2 separate regions of the Homo sapiens genome follow, and region 2 is linked to region 1. The links are contacts of gene promoters, found by promoter capture Hi-C in blood cells and fetal thymus (Javierre and others, 2016). All regions are on one chromosome and are shown on one strand. Each heading gives the region's core, a stretch centred on a gene start or on the middle of the fragment in contact. The rest is flanking DNA. Distances are from core to core; before and after follow the strand shown. Region 1 holds the start of SETDB1 (SET domain bifurcated histone lysine methyltransferase 1). Region 2 overlaps RPRD2 (regulation of nuclear pre-mRNA domain containing 2).

Region 1 (4,437 bases), core at 905-3,404:
AGTGAAACCCCGTCTCTACTAAAAATACAAAAAATTAGCCAGGCGTGGCGGCACGCACCTGTAGTCCCAACTACTCAGGAGGCTGAGGCAGGAGAATCGCTTGAACCCAGGAGGTGGAGGTTGCAGTGAGCCGAAATCGTGCCACTGCAGTCCAGCCTGGGCGACAGAGCGAGACTCTGTCTCAGAAAAAAAAAAAGAAAAGAAAAGAAAAAGAAAGAAAGGGCCGGGAGCAGTGGCTCACGCCTGTAAGTAATCCTAGCACTTTGGGAGGCGAGGCGGGTGGATCACTTGAGGTCAGGAGTTTGAGACCAGCCTGGCCAACATGGCGAAACCTCGTCTCCACCAAAAATACAAAAACTAGCCGGGTGTGGTGGCAGGGGCTTGTAATCCCAGCTACTCGGGAGGCTGAGGCAGGAGAACTGCTTGAACCCGGGAGGTGGAGGTTGCAGTGAGCCGAGATCGCACCATTGCACTCCAGCTTGGGTGACAAGAGCGAAACTCAGTCTCAAAAACAAACAAACAAACAAAAAAAGGAAGGCTCGGCGCAGTGGCTCACACCTGTATGTAATCCCAGCACTTTGGGAGGCCGAGGTGTGACGAGGCCAGCCTGGCTAACACGGTGAAACCCCGTCTCTACTAAAAATACAAAAAATTAGGCGGGCGTGGTGGCACGCGCCTGTAGTCCCAGCTACTCGGAAGGACGAGCCAGGAGAATCGCTTGAACCCGGGAGGTGGAGGTTGCAGTGAGCCAAGATCGCGCCATTGCACTCCAGCCTGGGCGATAGAACGAAACGCCTTCTCAAAAAAAAAAAAAAAAAAAAAAAAAAGGAAAAAAGCACATATTATTTTACTCAAATTCCATTTTGGGAAATCTTTTCTTTTTGTTTTTTGTTTTGTTTTGTTTTTGAGACGGAGTCTCGCTCGGTCACTTAGGCTGGAGTGCAGTGGCGCGATCTCCTCTCACTGAAGCCTCTGCCACCGGGGCTCAAGCGATCCTCCCCCCGCCTCAGCTGCGGAGTTGCTGGGACCACAGACGCGAACTACCACGCCTGGCTTTTTTTTTTTTTTTTTTACCTTGTATTTTTAGTCGAGATGGCGTTTCGCCGTGTTGCCCAGGCTGGTCTGGAACTCCTGGGCTCTAGCAATCCTCCCGCCTCGGACACAAAGCGCCCGGCCTGGGGAATCTTTTCTACAGAAATAAAAGTACTACTTCAAAAGGATGTTTATTTTTATTGTTGCGCTATTTGTCGGGGCTGAGAACGGAAAACAATCTAAACAATCTAAACTATTCAGGTGTCAAAAATACAAGTTATTGGTTTTTTGTTTTTTTGTTTTTTTTGGTTTTTTTGAGACGGAGTCTCGCTCTGTCGCCCAGGCTGGAGTGCAGTGGCGCGATCTCCGCTCACCGCAAGCACCGCCTCCCGGGTTCACGCCATTCTCCTGCCTCAGCCTCCCGAGTAGCTGGGACTACAGGCGCCCGCCACCACGCCCGGCTAACATTTTTAGTACAGACGGGGTTTCACCGTGTTAGCCAGGATGATCTCCATCTCCTGACCTCGTGATCCGCCCGCCTCTGACTCCCAAAGTGCTGGGATTACAGGCGTGAGCTACCGCGCCCGGCCAAAAATACAAGTTTTACCTTTTTTATTGGCTTCAGGTAATGTCCACATGTTAAATGAAAACAACAAAAATCCAAATACAGAAACTCGTACATACAAGACTGGAAAATGAAGCTGTATTACCTGAAAGGAGCGGAGTGGTGATGGGGCAAGAGAGAATATTATCACGTTTTTCTTATTACATCTTGATAGCCTTTACAATTTGTATCACTTATGTAACAAAACAAACTCAAGTAAAACTGAGAGAATAAAGCTCTGAACCTATGAGCGTTTCCCTAAGTCTTTACACAATGAATATAGTAATGGGGCCACTAGTCGAGGGTGGTAGGAGCGGCGGAGACTCGGTAATATACTGGCCACGCCTACTCTGCCCTGCCAGTCTCTTCTCACGTGTGCCCCTGGAAGGCTCTGCCTTAACGCATGCGTAGTTACCTTAGTTTTCGTCGCCTCTGAGGGGCGCCCCGCGGCTTTGGATTTGACCCCGTCAGGCTACCGTCGCGGTGACCGGAACGGCACTAAAGGTTTGCTTCCGGGCGTTTCTTTTGCTTCCCCTTCCCTCTTTCACGCTTCCTCCCCTCCCCCTCCTCCCTTATCCCTTCGCTTTCGCTCTTTTCCGTCGAGGCCGACCCCTGAGTTGTGAGTCTGGGGTCTGGTTGGTGAAAAAGAGCCCTTGAAGCTGGAAGACGGGAGGTGCGGGGAATACTGTTGAGTTATTTGGTGACCAAAGGCTTATCTGGGACGTTTTGTTTGTGGGAGGGGGTCGGGCGAGGGTGGGAAGGAAGTCTTCCCCAGAGGCGAACGGGGGCGGGGCTGAACTGGGTTTGCGAATGGGTAGGACGCACCCCTAGAATGGGTAGCACGGGGGTGGGCTGGTGTGTGGGCAGAGGAAAATGGAGGCGCTGAAAATCAGATTTTCTTTAACCGTTTGATTAAAAAAGCAGTTCACACGAATGTGTGAAGTATTTGGATTGTGGATATTAGGTACCCACGTTTTATTCCCAGGTTGCTTTACTTCTCTGTACTTTGGGGGAAACCTTTTTGCTGCAAGCTTTCGTGTGTTTGAATATCATAGACTTTTTAAAAAGTAAAATTCCACATGGAAGCAAAGTAATATAAGGGGAACAAGTAATGAAAGAGAAAACACTGAGTTAGTGAGTTCCAAATCAACTCCATCCCCAGGTGGGGTTTTGTTTAAATTAGGCATAGCATACAAAGATTTATCACATTAGTTAAGGAACACATATAGACCACAAAAATATCTTATAGATTGGTTCTCTTCAGTATCCCAAAAGATTATTTTTAAAGTTCGGTTTGTTTTGAGACAGGGTCTCACTTTGTCACCCAAGCTGGAATGCATGGCGCGAACATAGCTCACTACAGCAGCTACTCCTGGGCTCAAGCGATCCTCCCACTTCAGCCTCCTGAGTAGCTGGAACTAAAGGCGTGCACCACCACACGTGGCTAATTTTTGTATTTTTTTGTAAAGACGAGTCTTGCCATGTTGCCCAGGCTGGTCTTGAACTCCTGCCCTCAAGCGACCCTCCTGCCTCGGCCTCTAAAAGTGCTGAGATTACAGGTGTAAGCCACTGTGCCAGCCCAAAACATTATTTTCAGTAGCTCTCTACTGCTTAATGAATGTTCTCCATGCCGTCTCAAACTCTTAAATCTTTTTCAGGAGTGTTAGCGTACAGCAGAAGATAAGAACTCTTAAAAATCTCAGCATCAGATTCTGGAGAATAGGGAGGGAGAACATGGAATATTTGAATAGAATAACAGGCAGCAGAGTAGGAATTAGTTTTATTAGGGAACTGAAATTCTCTATTGATTGATTGTAGTTATAAGGACTCCAATTTAATTTGTTTTCTGTTCCATGCAGAGGACAAAAGCATGTCTTCCCTTCCTGGGTGCATTGGTTTGGATGCAGCAACAGCTACAGTGGAGTCTGAAGAGATTGCAGAGCTGCAACAGGCAGTGGTTGAGGAACTGGGTATCTCTATGGAGGAACTTCGGCATTTCATCGATGAGGAACTGGAGAAGATGGATTGTGTACAGCAACGCAAGAAGCAGCTAGCAGAGTTAGAGACATGGGTAATACAGAAAGAATCTGAGGTGGCTCACGTTGACCAACTCTTTGATGATGCATCCAGGTGAGAACTCCATGGAAAATAGAAGGAAATCTCTCCATTGGGAGATGTTTTTAGAGAATAATTGTTCATGACATTGAACCAAGCATTTTATTTTATGTTTTGAGACGGAGTCTCGCTCTGTCACCCAAGCTAGAGTGCAGTGGAGTGATCCTGGCTCACTGCAACCTCCACCTCTCGGGTTCAAGTGATTCTCCCACCTCCCCCTCCCGAGTAGCTGGAATTATAGGCATCCGCCACCACACCCAGCTAATTTTTTATATTTTTAGTAGAGACAGGGTTTCACCATGTTGGCCAGGCTGTGTACCAAACATTTTATACTTTATGAAGTACAGATGTTTAGAACCTTACTCTTCCTCAAAGTTTATGGTCAAAAATCTGACCTTACAATCAGCCGTAAATATAATTTTCATCTGTCAGCAGCTAATACATGATCAGCAGTAAGGGAGTCCAAGTCTTAAGTCCTTTCCCCTTCTTCCTCCTGTGCTCTATCTTAGAACAATTGCTTCATTTCCCTAGTAAGATCATCCAGGGAGTGAGGATTGTAAAGAATTTCTGTCTTACGTAACTCTGAAGCATTAGTAAGTTCCCATACCCCCAAAAGATTTGTTTCTGGTGCTCTAGTTGTCACTTAGAATACATTGTTTTTAAATTTATTATACTTTAAGTTCTAG
Region 2 (4,437 bases), core at 1-2,500, 460 kb before region 1:
TGGGAGGCTGAGGCGGGCAGATCACCTAAGGTCAGCAGTTCAAGACCAGCCTGGCCAACCAGGTGAAATAACATCTCTACTAAAAATATGAAAATTAGCCAGGTGTGGTGACACACACCTGTAGTGTGCTGAGATCGCAGTAAGCCGGAATCACGCTACTGCACTCCAGCCTGGACGACAGAGCAAGACTCAGTCCAAAAAAAAAAAAAAAAAAAAAAATTTTTTTATGACGCTTCAAGAACATAGTGAAACCCTGTCTCTACAACGGAATTAAAAATTAGCGCCGGGCGCGGTGGCTCACGCCTGTAATCCCAGCACTTTGGGAGGCTGAGGCAGGCGGATCATGAGTTCAGGAGATCGATACCATCCTGGCTAACACAGTGAAACCCCGACTCTACTAAAAATACAAAAAATTAGCCGGGCGTGGTGGCGGGCACCTGTAGTCTTGGCTACTTGGAAGGCTGAGGCAGGAGAATGGTGTGAACCCAGGAGGTGGAGGTTGCAGTGAGCCAAGATTGCCCCACTACACTCCAGCCTGGGCAAAAGAGCAAGACTCTGTCTCAAAAAAAAAAAAAAAAAAAAAATTAGCTGGGCATAGTGGTGCATGCCTGTAGTTCCAGCTACTCAGGGGGCTAAGGCAGGAGGATCACTTGAGCCCAGGAGTTCAAGGCTGCAGTACGCTGTGGTCACCCCACTGTACTCCAACCTAAGTGATGAGACCCTGCCTCAAAAAAAAAAAAAAAAAAATTTCTGAGACATGAATATATCTTTTTTTGTCCTAATGTTTTATAGAGGCTTCATTATTTATTATTTTATTTATTATTTTATTAGAGTCTTAGATGTAGTATTTTTGTTTTCACCTACCTATAATCTCTCTCATTTGACCCTTTCTGTTCAGCTTTACTAATTATGTTTTGTGCATGACACTGCCTGTTTCTAACCTTTTTTCATAAATCTTTCCTACTCTCTACTCTCTTATGCTCCAGATACCAATGAAATCCTTTTTAAGTACCGTAGTATAATTATGAAATGAATTACAAATACCAGGGCAATATATTCAGTGTAGTGATTTACTCTATATCAGTAGTCTCAACCAAAGGCCTCCAGGGAGGACACTTGGCAATATTTGGAGACCTTTTTAGTTGTCTCAACTGGGGTAATGGTAGGGGTGCTACTGCCTCTAGTGAGTAGAGGCCAGGAGGATGCTCCTAAATATCCTACAATGTGTGAGACAGCCCCAACAATAAAGAATTATCTAGCCCAAAGTGTCAGTAGTGCTGAGGTTGAGAAACCCTGCTCTCTATCAAAGGAGTGGTGTAAAACAGTTTCCTAAACTGTTATGTAAGTGGATCATTCAAGCATATTATAGTGAACTTTGTCTGGAGGTGCAGAAGAATTTTGTTACACAGAACTAAATAGTATTAAGTAATAATCCACAGCCCCTATCTATTGGCATCAGCAATAAAGAATTGATGATGACTGCAGCACATGTTGTACTACTAATATCAGGGACAATTTGAGAGTTTGACATGTTTATGCTTTCTCCCTTTTTATTTTTATTTGTTTGTTTGTTTTTGAGACGGGGACTTGCTCTGTTGCCCAGGCTGGAGTGCAGTGGTGTGATCTCGGCTCACTGCAACCTCTGCCTCTCGGGTTCAAGTGATTCTCTTGCCTCAGCCTCTCGAGTAGCTGGTATTACAGGCTCACACCACCATGCCCGGCTAATTTTTGTATTTTTAGTAGACACGGGGTTTCGCCATGTTGGCCAGGCTGGTCTCGAACTCCTGACCTCACGTGATCCACCTGCCTCGACCTCCCAAAGTGCTGGGATTACAGGTGTGAACCACCGTGCCTGGCCGATGTGAAATTTCTGATGAGGCAAAATTTGAACAGAACTAGGTTCCTTATGGAATGTGGAATTCTCTTTGACTTTTAAAAGGATTGTATCTAGCAAGTTAAATAGATGTATTTCCTCGAAGACTGTTAATGAAATCCCAGAACTTTGTTCTGATTGTGTCATCCACAGCCCTAGGTATTGACAGATTTATAACACAAAAGAGAGACTTCAGGCCCGGTGTGGTGGGTCACACCTGTAATTCCAGCACTTTGGGGACGGGTGGATCACCTGAGGTCAGGAGTTCAAGACCAGCCTGGCCAACAGGGTAAACCTGTCTTTCCAAAAAAAAATACAAAAAAATTAGCTGGGCGTGGTGGCTCACAGCTGTAACCCCAACTACTTGGGAGGCTGAGGTAGGAGAATCGCTTGAACCCGGAAGGCAGAGGTTGCAGTGAGCCAGCCTGGGCGACGAGCAAAACTCTGTCTCAAAAAAAGAGAAACTTCAGTGGGCAAAGGAGCAGAGTATGACTTGTTATGATTAAAGAGCAAACTTTTGGCTGGGCGCAGTGGCTCATGCCTGTAATCCTAACACTTTGGGAGGCCACGATGGGAGGATCACTTGAGGCCAGGAGTTTGAGACCAGCCTGGTCAATATAGCAAAACCCCTATCTCTATTGTTTTTAAGAATTTTTAAAAATAATTAAAAAAAAAAAAGATTGGAGAACAGTAATATTTAGTGGTGAGAGACAATTTTACCTATTACCAGAAATCTGAGTAGTATATCTATCTTAAAAAGATGTTCTTTTGAAGAAGTTATCCCAAAATATCTGAAAAATATGCTGAAATATCTTCTAAAAATCATATTACATTATTATATATCACATTCTAGTGTTTGAGGACTTCTGGGTTTTGTGAGAACAGTGATTACTAAGAATTAAATCAGGCTGGGCATGGTGGCTCACGCCTGTAATCTCAGCACTTTGGGAGGCTGAAGTGGGACAATCACTTGAGCCCAAGATTTTGAGATCAGCCTGCGCAACATGGTGAGACCTTGTCTCTACTAAAAATAAAAAAGTTAGCTGGGCATAGTGATGTACACCTGTGGTCCCAGCTACTCAGGAAGCTAAGGCAGATAAATCTTTTGAGCCCAAGAGGTTGAGGTTACAGTGAGCTATGATCGCACCACTGCACTCCAGCCTGGGTGACAGAGCAAGAGCCTGTCTCTTGAAAAAAAAAAAGGAAACTATTAGTAGGGATGAATTATGTGGCTAGGGAACTTTTTTTGGAATGAAACATGCCGATTTTTTTTTTTCTTCAGAAGGATCATAACTAAAGTAAACATTATTTCAGTTGTTTGGATATTACTGAATATTGGATAACAATAAAGACCATCCAACATTATTTAGAAATAAATGGCTTTAAAATGTTACAAGGATGGAGGGGACTTGAAATTCTTTAGGCCAAATCTGTTAGAATATGGGTTAAAATTGAAATTTTGAAGAAATGTTAATTGAAATATCACATGAAGTATTTTCTTTAATCATATAATTACTAAGGAACAATGTTAGTGTATTCAGTGACTAAAAGCTATAAATTTGGGTGAAATGTATATTAAAAATTTTTTTAATTAATTTATTTTTAAATACAGAGACTCACTTTGCCACCCAGGCTGGTGTGCAGTGGCAGAGTCATAGTTAGTTTACTGTAACCTTGAACTGGGCACAAGTGATTCTCCAGCCTCAGCCTCCTGAGTAGCTAGGACTACAGGCATGCACCATCATGCCCAGCTGATTTTTAAATTTTTTTTAGAGACAGAGTCTCTCTGTGTTTCCCAGGCTGGTCTCAAACTCCTGGCCTCAAGCCATCCTCCTGCCTCTGCTGCCCAAAATGCTAGGATTACAGGCATGAGCCACCGTGCCCAGCCAAAAGTCTTCATTTGTGACCAGAAATTGGGTAAATTTTTAAAAATATGATTGAATTTATAGAACCTTCTGTTATCTTTTTGTCAAATATTTTTCTAAAAAATTTTCTACAGGAGCAGTTTGCTTTGTTGAACTTCAGCCTTTGCCCCAAAGAATTCTTTCTCAGTGCTTCTGAGAAAGTTTTGACTGTCAGTGAACACAGTTAAATTCCATCATTGTCAATCTGGACTAAATAATCCTTGGATTTTCCACACTATAAAATGGGGATTGTGTGTTTTCTTGTGAAAGGACCAGTGTCCCTGGTGGTCTGTCTTTGTAAGTCTTTGTGGTGTATGTTTGTTATAGCTACATTTTACAACCAAAACGGATGGTTGAAAGCATTGTTTTTCAAAAAGTAACAACAGTCTACCAAGAGGTGCTTCTTGAAAAAGGTGTTTGCTGTTCAGATAAGTTTCTGAAATTTGCATTTGCCTGTCTCCCGCTTGAAAATAACAATGTATATTAACTTATTAGAGATAATAAGTTTGAAGGTTGAAGGTTGGTTTGAAGGTTGGACAGGAAAGGTAGAACAGATCTGTTTGCATTTAGAGAAACACTTCCACAGATCAAACATTAAGAAATACTGGCTTAAAGTGTTGTTTTAAGAATAACTTTGCCTCCTTTCTTTTCCTGCTTTGC

Evidence for each region. The method cuts DNA at HindIII sites, captures the fragments that hold promoters and counts their contacts. A CHiCAGO score of 5 or more calls a contact.
Region 2: a contact is called between a fragment that was not itself captured here and the fragment with the promoter of SETDB1 in region 1, in 1 of 17 cell types (naive CD4 T cells). The highest score is 5.5, in naive CD4 T cells.

What each region holds. Positions count from the first base shown.
Region 1 is chr1:150,924,209-150,928,645 of GRCh38, forward strand. SETDB1 (SET domain bifurcated histone lysine methyltransferase 1) reads left to right here and starts at 2,155. Exons shown (of 22, transcript NM_001366418.1): 1 at 2,155-2,309; 2 at 3,496-3,766. The coding sequence starts at 3,507. LOC107985204 (a long non-coding RNA gene) reads right to left here and starts at 2,133. Exons shown (of 3, transcript XR_001738231.2): 1 at 2,052-2,133. The HindIII fragment of the contact is 13,077 bases long and covers 1-2,665 here.
Region 2 is chr1:150,465,816-150,470,252 of GRCh38, forward strand. The region is part of intron 10 of RPRD2 (regulation of nuclear pre-mRNA domain containing 2); the gene reads left to right. Among named protein-coding and RNA genes, the nearest start is that of TARS2, 19 kb to the right of the region's middle. The HindIII fragment of the contact is 7,293 bases long and covers 1-4,437 here.